Regions from separate parts of the Homo sapiens genome. Here regions 1 and 3 are each linked to region 2. Evidence: promoter capture Hi-C in 16 types of primary human blood cells and fetal thymus (Javierre and others, 2016). All regions are on one chromosome and are shown on one strand. The core of a region is centred on a gene start or on the middle of the fragment in contact, and the rest is flanking DNA. Distances in the headings are between cores, read along the strand shown. Region 1 holds the start of LDHAL6A (lactate dehydrogenase A like 6A). Region 2 holds the start of SERGEF (secretion regulating guanine nucleotide exchange factor). Region 3 has its middle 4.4 kb from the start of KCNC1.

Region 1 (3,403 bases), core at 385-2,884, 440 kb after region 2:
TACATTTTATAAAAATTTGTCAATATGTATTACTGTATTAGGGTTCTCTAGAGGGACAGAACGAATAGGATAGCTATATATATAAAGGGGAGTTTATTGAGGAGTATTGACTCACACAATCACAAGGTGAGGTCCCACAACAATAGGCCGTCTGCAAGCTGAGAAGCAAGAAAGTCAGTCGGAGTTCCAAAGCTGAAGAACTAGGAGTCCAATGTTTGAGGGCAGGAAGCATCCAGCACAGGAGAAAGATGAAGGCTGGAAGACTTAGCCAGTCTAGTCCCTCCACGTTCCTCTGCCTGCTTTTATCCTAGACGTGCTGGCAGCTGACTAGATGGTGCTCACCCGGATAGAGGGTGGGTTTGCGTCTTCTAGCCTACTGACTCAAATGTTAATTTCCTGTGGCAACACCCTCACAGACACACCCAGGTTCAACACTTTGCATCCTTCAATCCAATCAAGTTGACACTCAGTATTAACCATCAAAATTACGTATTATGATTCACAAATGAGAAAACAATTAGGTAAAATGTGGTGGGAGAAGTAGAAACCTTGGTTTATTCCAGACTGATTTTCAATTCTACATTTTTGTTTTTTATTTTTGAGACGGAGTCTCACTCTGTCACCCAGGCTGGAGGGCAGTGGCATGATCTCGGCTCACCAAAACCTCCGCCTCCCGGGTTCAAACGATTCTCCTGCCCCAGCCTCCTGAGTAGCTGGGATTACAGGTGCGTGCCACCACACCCGGCTAATTTTTGTATTTTTAGTAGAGACGGGGTTTCGCCATGTTGGCCAGGCTGGTCTCGAACTCCTGACCTCAGCTAATCCACCCGCCTCGGCCTCCCAAAGTGTGGATTCTACATTTAACCACTTAATAATGAATTGAGCTTTCCCTTCATCTTGTAAAAATGGTTATCAATTGGCACTGCATTCATCAAATTCTTCAGGTTTCATATCTTATTTCCAAATTCCTTTTGCATACAGAGTTTTGTTGTTGTTTTGAGACAGGGTCTCACTCCGTCACCCAGGCTGGAGTGCAGTGGCACAATTTCGGCTTACTGCAACCTCCGCCTCCCAGGTTCACAAACAATTCTTGTGCTTCAGCCTCCCAGGTAGCTGGGATTACAGGGGTGCACCACCACGTCCAGCTAATTTTTGTATTTTTAGTAGAAACGTGGTTTCACGATGTTGGCCAGGCTGATTTCGAACCCCTGACCTCAGGTGATCCGCCCGCCTTGGCCTTCCAGAGTGCTGGGATTACAGGCGTGAGCCACCACGCTCGGCCCAGAGTTTTAAAATTTTACTTTTTCTACTTTAGCTCACATTTGAGGTGGTAAAAGTTAATCTTGAGGTCCCTTTCTCCTACAGGGCTGGGGGAAAATTTTCACGTGAGAGTCAAACAGTCCTTTTCAGATACATCCAGACAAGGTTTGGTTAGAAATAAAATTACTTGGGCTCTCTGGTGGATGGGTTCTAGGCAAACAACTCCGCCCAACAGCAGAGGCCCTGCACTGCGTTGTGCCTGCAGCACCTCGTGCGCCTTCTGCAGCCGGCCAACCACCTACACCGCAGCCCGCCCACCCGCACGCGGGGGCGGGGCGGGCAGGCAGAGGCGCAGGCGCGGTGCTTCGCAGCCCGCTTCCGGCCTCACACCTGCCAAGCATCACACCTGCCAAGCATCACACCTGCCAAGCATCACACCTGCCAAGCATCACACCTGCGATGCCTGCACGAGCTGGGTGCGGTCCGCGCAGCTGCAGTAAGGGGGCGACCCGGCGTCTGTTAGTCGGCGGTTCATCTCCTTCGTGCCTCGATGAGCTTTAACGCCATTTTCCTCCATTCTCTTTCTTCACCTCTTGAGTGAGTGGCCATGAGCTGGGCTGCAAGAGTCCTGGGGAGCAGCCAGAGAGCGGGCGCCGCGGGAGCGAATTGTTTTTGCCCAAGGATGGTTCTGTGTCTCCGCCAGGCGGCATGTGACCTGCTCGGGCGCGGGTGGCCCTTCACCCCTGTGAGTGTGGCCAGAAGTACCTCTCACCTGGACCTGCGGACCCCGGGCGCAGTCCTGGAGCTGAGAACTGGAGGTTGGGGGAACAGCAGGGTAAAGGGGAGAGAAAAGGGGGTCAGCTGCGGGACGGAGTGCCGTCCCAGCTGTAGTTTCATGTTTGGTGGAGCAACCCCTGTTCCTTTCCTCTCTCTCTCTCTTAATTCCTCTTAACTGTACTCACGCTTCCTTCTCCTTCCCCTGGTCCGCTTCATGGATGCTGAGCTGCCTGGCCAGAACCTACCCAGCTTCTTTGCTGGTCAGATTTGTCGGTCTTTTGTGTGTCTGCAGCACCTCCTTCCACACGGGCCCAGGAGTTCTCTATACGCGCTCTCACCGCAGGTCTTGGAATTCCAAGCCATTTCCAATTCCAGGTCTTGGAAATGGCTGTGCAATTTGTCTTCACTGTTAGGTTTCCAAGATGGCAACTATCAAGAGTGAACTTATTAAGAATTTCGCGGAAGAGGAGGCCATTCATCACAATAAGATCTCCATTGTAGGAACTGGATCGGTTGGTGTGGCTTGTGCTATCAGCATCTTATTAAAAGTAAGTTGTGTGCTCTGCACCACAGGGTTCACCTCAGTTGGAGGCGAGGCCACAGCGTATGGTTGTGGAGGTTGTGTCCAGTTCAAGGTGGTGAGTGGGGAGCCAGTGTGAGGGGCATCAGAGGAAAAGGTGCCCTTTTTTTAGTTGTTCACCCAGAGGGCGCTCCTTTTTAAAAATTGTATGATGATATCATGTGGGTTAGAAGCATCTCTGTGAAAGTATGTTGACATTTCACTTTCACGTAATGACAATATGAGGTACCCCTTTGCTTGATTTGGAAACTCAGCTCACAAAACAAACTGGAGAGAAATAGGTGGCAGAAAAGAGTATACAAGCGTGTCAGTGATGGTAGGCAGCCTACGAGTACCAAATACAATAATCTTTTTTCATTTAAATATCTCTCTCCCATTTCCTAGTCTGTATATCTTTATTTCCCTTCGTTCCTTATTCATGTTAGGTTAGTTTTAGTGTTTAGCTGTTCTTAGTATTGATACAGCTGATAAAGTTTTATGGCTATAGACAGAGGCCAAAAAAAGATTCTGACCCCTTTCTAAGAATATTACCCTGATATGAACTTTATTACCATAAAGTTTTAATAAATCATAAGACACTCTGAGCTATACTTTTATTAATGAAATATCTGTAAAATGTTTTAGCCATCTTTTATATAACCTTTAATCCTGGCATGAGTCATTGGATTTAAAGGATTGCCTCTGGGTTTCATATCTAGATGACATAGTGACCTTATGGCACTAAGGACAGCAGCCACAGCCAACTGCTGCTCCTGCCAGCCATACAAATTCCCCATGATTCATTTT
Region 2 (3,606 bases), core at 741-3,240:
TTAACACAACCTATTACAACTGTTGTTTGCCTTTCTTCCTCACAAACACTCCAGACATATCACACGTGCACATGCACACATACACACACACACACACACACACACACACACCCCTAACAAGGTAAATCCCCTTCCTGTGAACCGAACTTTATTCCCCCAAAATTCACGTGTTGAAGCCCTAACCTTTAGTACCTTACTGTATTTGGAAAGAAGGCCTTTAAAGGGGCAATTAAGGTTAAATGAGGTCATAAGGGTGGGGCCCTAATCCAATATGACTGGTGTCCTTAAAAGAAGAGACACCACGGATGCTCACGCACACAGAAAAGGCCATGTGAGGACACAGTGAAAAAAGCCATGTGAGGACACAGTGAGAAGGCGGCCATCTGCAAGCCAGAGAGAGGCCTCGGGAGAAACCAAACCTACTCACACCTTGATCTTGGCCTTCTAGCCTCTGGAACTGTGAGAAAATAAATTTCTGTTGTTTAAGCCTCTGTTGTGTGGTATTTTGTTATGGTAGCCCTAGCCGACCAACACACCCCCACAGTTTCAGATTATACAGCAGGAAAAACACACTACCAGTCCTCCAAACACAGCAGAAGGGTGTCAACAACCTATTAAACATATTTTACAACCTTTAATATTCGGCTTTGTCTGTACTGAAACAATATTTCTGTTTCCTCTGTCCACACAGACGCCAGTCTCCTGCCTGGAAAAAGCCAGAGACAGCACACATTCAATCCCCAACTCCACCCCCAGCTCCCGGGCCACCTCAAAGACGCCCAGCCAGCCAGACTACCGCAGGTCACGCCATGCTCTCCCTCCTGCCAAATTGCAGCCCCACATTCAACAATTGCCGCCTTGTACTGATCATTACTTCTTTAAAAATTGGACAACTAATACTGATTTTAACAGCAATACAGGTTATAATTTTGCTCTCCCCCAACACAAGAGCTGGAAGTCCTTCACTCGTGTATTTCACTCATGTGTATTTCCCCAACACCAGCACATGGGTAGGCACACAGATGCTCGTTCATTCATTCGTCAACGAGTATTTACTGGGGACCTACAATGTGCCAGACACCAAGAGAGGCACCGTGAACAAGACAGGCACAGCACCCACTCTTACCACACTTACTTTCCAGCCAGAGAGACTGACGTTAATAATAAATTATACACATCATTACAATTGTGATACGTGCTATGAAGAAGCACAAGACGCAGCGACTGCTTGTTCCCGTGCATGCTGGTCGGCCACCTGCCACGCTCCTGTGCATGAACCCTCCTCTCTCCCAGACACACATCAAGATGACCCTGTCTCTCCCAATGCTCCCGTCAAACCAACAGCAGCCCAACTCCCCCAACACATGCAAGAACCGGTCACAGCAGAGTGTCAGCAAATAGGCAGGGTCTGTGCCTTGTGCGCGGCCAAACACCGCAGGCCTCACATCTAAAGGATGCTTTCGCCAGGCTGGGACAGGGTCTCCCTCCTCCAGGCATCAGGAGTGTGGGGGGCACAGGTGGCCCCACGGAGCTCTGGGACCGGGCGATCCTCTCCACCGAGCCCTCCGCGCTGTCTTCCAGGCGCTATTCGGGCTGGAGGGCTCTCGCGGAACCAGACGCTCTGCCCCGAGGCAGGTTCTTCCCGCGGCGCCACAGCCCCTCCGGCCCTGACCCCGCCAGCCGGCAGGCCCCTAAGTCGACCGCGAAGACCCTTCCTTCCCCGCCCGCCCGCTCCTCCTCCGCTCCCCCTCCGCTCCCAGCCCAGGATCCTTCAACCCAGAGCCCGGCTCGGACCTCAGCCGCCCAGCCCCTGAACTGCCCACGCCGCGGCCAGCAGCTCCCACATCTCGGCGCCCCTCAGGGCCTGCACCGGCCCGGGGGCGGAGTCACGTACCCAGGCGAAGAGCGCGGCCGCCGCGGGGGCGGCCTCCGAGGCGCTGGGCTCGCGCTCCATGCGAGGACGCTCCGCCGGCGCTTCCGGGAGGGACGGCACGGGGGCGGCGCCTGCCGGGGGTAGGTGAGCGCCGGAGCCGGACCGGGGACGCGTGATGGGTAGGGCGCGGGGCGGGGTCTGTGGTGGGAAGCGGCCCGCAGGCCGGGAGAGAGGGTGCGGCCGGGCCCTCGGGCCACTGGGGATCAGTGGTGGGCGGGGCCGGACGACAGCCCCGGAGCCGCCTCCCAGTCAGCCCGCCCCGGCGGCGCTCGCAGCGTCTCCGCCCGCAGCCTCCTGTCTCGCTGGGCCTCTCAGCCTCTCGCTCCTACCCCCTCGTACTCTTTATTTTTAGTCATAATTTCATGTTTCATGCAGGTGCACTGCGCGCCACAGTTCACAAAGCTCCTTCGCGTTTTTGTCTCCTTGGAGGCCCACGACAGCCCAGAGGGGCTGACAGGGCAGCGATGGCATCACCATTTGCGGGAACAGGAAATGGAGCCTGAGGGGTAGGGCAGGGTCCTGCCCGGCGTCTCAGGCGCAATTGTCTTGAGCCCGCTTTGGTGTGCGTTCGCAAACATCTGAGGGGGCGCCTTGGGAGGCGAGTGGAGTGGCACGTCGCCGGTGTCGCCCTCTGCACCTGGCACGGAGCGGGAACCCGCGCCTCGCGACGCTGAATGGGGGAGGCTGGTTAGCGTCGACTCCTGCCGGGGCAGCCTCGGCGCTCCGGGCACGGCCCTGAGCTCATTCTATTAATAATACTGGATAATCGTCACCCAACGAACATTTCCATATAAAATGGCTTTTCTCAGACAGCGTCGTGTTGCTGATGGGAGTTAATTAAGTTCAATTTATCTGAAGGAAAATATGGCACCGCGTACCGGGAATACAGAACACATAGGGTCACATTAAAGATGATCATCCACATTCACATTCGGTAGCACTTGGCCCCTCTGCTGACACGGGCCTCCAGCACTCACTGCCCTTCACCCCTGGGCTTCTGGGAAGTGTCTCCAATGAGCTCTTACACTGTCCTTTCCTGTTCTTTCACTCCATCCACTTTTAGGAGTTTCTGCCTGTAAGACCACTTGAGGGCAGCCCCTCACCTTTATCTCTCCAACCTGTGGCATCTGGAGAACGTCGATGACCATACCAAGAAAAAAGCAAACTTTGGAGAGATAAAACAGCTCTTCATTCTCTAGGGATCTGAATGTGCAGGAGCTATACCATGCTTACTGACTGTCTTATGAGTGGGCTTTTTTGTGCTGACCATTTCTTTGAAGCATGTGTAACAGGATGTAAAAATGGGATCCTTCACCGCTCAGTTTTGGCTGAGCAACAAGTGCCAGTTACTCCTATATCATAAAGTAAGGTTCAAGACCACCAAAGCAGGTCTTGCAAAGCAACTGTCTAGAAACCAGTGTATGACTTTCAGTCTACGAAAAAGGTTGAGAGGCCAGAGAGAATTCTAGTAGGATATGTGGCCACAATTATCAATGTGGTGTGGGTCTCAACCCATCTCAGGTCTAAGGAAAGTTACTTTACCTGGGTCCCTGAGAGAGCTTGGTATGCATCCCTCTAGATTTAGGACCCAGACAGGCTTCTGTCCAATCCGTTCTGAGAAATACAAGGGCTTGTGGCTGGATATCTGCTCTAATAGCTGAGCAAAGACAAAC
Region 3 (3,461 bases), core at 695-3,194, 280 kb before region 2:
ATCCTGCCACCCTGTGAAGAAGGTGCCTGCTTCTCCTTTGCCTTCTGCCATGATTGTAAGTTTCCTGAGGCCTCCTCAGCAATGTGGAACAGTGAGTCAATTAAACCTCTTTCCTTTATAAATTACCCAGTCTTGGGTATTTCTTCATAGCAGTGTGAGAATGGACTAATACATTGAGTTATGAGAGTTCTTTATCTAATCTAGATATCAGACTCTTATCAGATATAGGATTTGCAATTATATCTCCCATTCTGCGAATTCTTTTCACTTCCTTTGAAGCACAAATGTCTATTTTATTTTGATGAGATCCAAGATCCAAGTTATCTACCTGTTCCTTTTTTTTTTTTTTTTTTTTGCTTATGGTTTTGACATCACATCTAAGAAACGATTACTTACTTCAAGTTCTTCTAAGAGTTATATGACTTTGGCCCTAACATTTAGGAATTTGGTCCATTTAAAATTTTTAATATGGTGTAAGTATGGGATCCAAATTCATTCTTTTGCGTATGAATATATAGTTGTTTCAGCATCATTTATTGAAATGACGATTCTTTCTCCATTGAATTGTCTTGGCACTCTTGTCAAAAATTAATTGACCATAAATATATGAGTTTATTTCTGTACTCTCAATTCTATTCCATTGATCTATCTATCTATCCTTATGCCAATACCACACAGTCTTGATTATTGTAGTGTGGTAGTTAGTTTTGAAATTGGGAAGCGTGAGTCCTCCAGCTTTACTCTCCTTCTTCAATACTGTTGTGAGTTTTCTGGGTCCCTTGCATTTCATAATGTATCTTTAAGTAGTCCTGTCCAGGAGGTGTTTTCAGTAGCTACTAACTGTGCCTGGTACTACCCGGGACCTATAAATTGGCATAGAAATGTAAAGCAGGGTCTTGTTAGTACACAGAAAAAAATAGTTATATTGGAGGGAAGGTGATGATTTTTTAATTTCCAGTCATCTTCGATGTAGCTTATGTAAAATAAATGTATTAACTAAATATTATTCTGTAATTGCAAAAAAAGTTGCATCTGTTTTTGTTGGCATACTGAATGCTTCCAAATAAATGTAACTTATTTTAAATCATTATATAGGTGTGCCGTGCAGTTAATAAAAATATGAAGCTTTTTTCTGTATTTTTAAATATTTGTAGTATATGTCAGCTTCTTAAAATTTATATTTGGTCTTGAGTCCTTTTCTAAGTCTAAATAAATATTCACTTTTGTATCCAACTTTGTATTCTTTTTTGCTTTCTTTTTTTAAAAGAGTGACCCCCAAAACTTCCAGGCTTCAGGCCCTACACACCCTGGACCCACCTCTGCATACTGACCATGCTCACCTGCAGGCTGACACATCCACAGGTGTACATACAAGAGAACTTGCCAGGCTCTCCCTATCAGAGGAGCCGCAGAGGGAAGACCTTTAGGGTAGCCACGAGTCTCCAGCTGCTTCTGGGAGGAGAACTCAGTGTCCTCTGCACAGTCCTGCTGTGAACATGCTTGCAGGAGGGCCTGTACCCACCCAGCCTCCTTACATATATGCACACCTGACCATGTTCACCACAGCCATCATCTCATCTCACACTTCCGCACCTCCCTCCCACAGCCTGCAGGGAGAGGCATCCAGGCCCAGGGAGGGCTAATGCTCTGTCCCCAGGGCCACACTGACACCCTAAGGGACATTGCTGAAGGATGGTAGGAGTCCATGAGGGGGAGGGGGTGTAAGGGCTGGTCACAGAGGGATGAGAAGTGGGCTAGGGAGCCCGAGGGAAGGGAGAAAAGGGAAGAAGAGGAAATGAGGTACCATGTCATTTAATCCTTACCAGACATTGGTCCCTTTATGGATAATGAGGAAATAGAAGCCTAGAGAGGGAATGGGACTAGTTGACGCAGCTAGTGAATAGCAAAAATGGGATTTGTAACCAAGTCTGTCTACATCAGTGGTTCTCTCAACCGGAAGAAATTTTACCTCCCAGGGTACATTTGGCAGTGTCTGTAGACCTTTTTGGTGATCACTGCTAGGGAAGAGGCTTCTACCGACACCTAGTGGACAGAGGCCTGCTAAATATCCTGCAATGCACAGTACAGCACCCGGCCCCAACCCTGGCAAAGGATTACATCTGAGCCAAGATGTCAACAGTGCAGAAGTTGAGAAACCCTGGTCTAGACACCTTCCAAGAGTATTCTTCACCTTGGCCCCTTTCTGGACTTCCCATGGCCTAAGCCATGTTGGTGCCCCTGCCCCAGAGTTTCCAAGAAGGAACAGCTAGCTGTATACCTCGCTGCAGCTCAGCCCAGGTTACCAGGGTCACTGCTCAACCTACAGATCTGTGGCCAAGGTCGCCAATTTCCCACTACGGCATCTCTGGATTCAATCTTCCCTGACCATTGGAGGCAGGCGGTATGGTCTAGGGAGGGGATGTCTGCCACCCCCACGGCTTACCATCAGAGCAGGGTTACTATCCTCAAAGCCTTCTCGGTCAATACCCAGCTTAGGTTAGTTCCCAGCCATGGCCACAAGATGGCACCCCAGCCCACCAGGAGGGCTGAGGCTCTGGGCCTGGGAGAGCAGCATGGAGGATGTGCCAACCTGGACAAAAGCCTAGGGGCTGGACTTGGGCCAGTTCCAGAGCTTAGCAGGACCAGATCTAAGGCCTGCAAGTGCCAGGTGGGAAAACATAGGCCAAACTTGGCTTCAGAACTCCCTTCACCTTTTTTTTAGTCCACTCCCAACACCAGCTTATATTCTAGCCTTTCCTACATGAAGCTTACTGAAGCCCAGCAATCCCTCCTTGGGCCTAAACAAGAGAAATTCTAGAACTTAGATGTTAAGGATACAGGAGTTATTATTATTATTTCAATACAACAGTAAAAGCAAAAAACGAGGCACAGAGAAGTTGAGTAACTTGCCCAAGGTCACAGCTAGTCAGTACTGGAGCTGGGATTTGAATCCAGGCAGTCTGGTTTTAAAGTCTGTGCTCTTAGCCACTGAACATACCACACCACAACTGCTCCCACCCCCACCAGCCCCAGCTACCAAAGACCCTCTGGCACCAGACCACAAGCTTTCTTCTGCAAGGGAGGGGCAAATGGCTGCGAATAGGAGGTGCTGCTCCAAAGTGGAAAAGGAGTGAGGTTTTCAGTCTAGCTGGGGGTCTGTCGTTAGTGTTTGCGAGTGAGAAGCTAGGGAATGGTTAGTCATTCTTCCTCCTATTTCCCCCCAAAACCCTCTGTTTCTCTGTTTTCTGGTTTTTGGTTTTTGTTGATTTCTTCTGTGTTGCCCTCTTGGTTTTCCTAGGCTGTTTGCAAATGCTAGCATTCTCGCAGTGTGAAGGGGAAGTGAGAGAAGAAAGTTTGATGTCCTGTTCAGGATCCACAAGGGAGGCCATTCTTTGGGGCCTGGGCTGGGGGTGTGTCATCAGGGATCAAAGTGAGAATCCTAAAGTGGAACAGTGTGGGGC

What was found. The method cuts DNA at HindIII sites, captures the fragments that hold promoters and counts their contacts. A CHiCAGO score of 5 or more calls a contact.
Region 1: the fragment with the promoter of LDHAL6A here is called in contact with the fragment with the promoter of SERGEF in region 2 in 4 of 17 cell types (M1 macrophages, M0 macrophages, total CD4 T cells and 1 more); the score reaches 6.3 in M1 macrophages.
Region 3: a fragment that was not itself captured here is called in contact with the fragment with the promoter of SERGEF in region 2 in 1 of 17 cell types (M2 macrophages); the score reaches 5.1 in M2 macrophages.

What each region holds. Positions count from the first base shown.
Region 1 is chr11:18,454,222-18,457,624 of GRCh38, forward strand. LDHAL6A (lactate dehydrogenase A like 6A) reads left to right here and starts at 1,635. Exons shown (of 7, transcript NM_144972.5): 1 at 1,635-2,585. The coding sequence starts at 2,460. The HindIII fragment of the contact is 8,824 bases long and covers 1-3,403 here.
Region 2 is chr11:18,011,057-18,014,662 of GRCh38, forward strand. It overlaps SERGEF (secretion regulating guanine nucleotide exchange factor), which reads right to left and starts at 1,991. Exons shown (of 11, transcript NM_012139.4): 1 at 1,895-1,991. The coding sequence starts at 1,954. RefSeq lists enhancers at 266-783, 784-1,300, 2,659-2,708 and a silencer at 1,659-2,278. The HindIII fragment of the contact is 12,002 bases long and covers 1-3,606 here.
Region 3 is chr11:17,728,688-17,732,148 of GRCh38, forward strand. No RefSeq gene overlaps it. Among named protein-coding and RNA genes, the nearest start is that of KCNC1, 4.4 kb to the right of the region's middle. The HindIII fragment of the contact is 1,642 bases long and covers 1,124-2,765 here.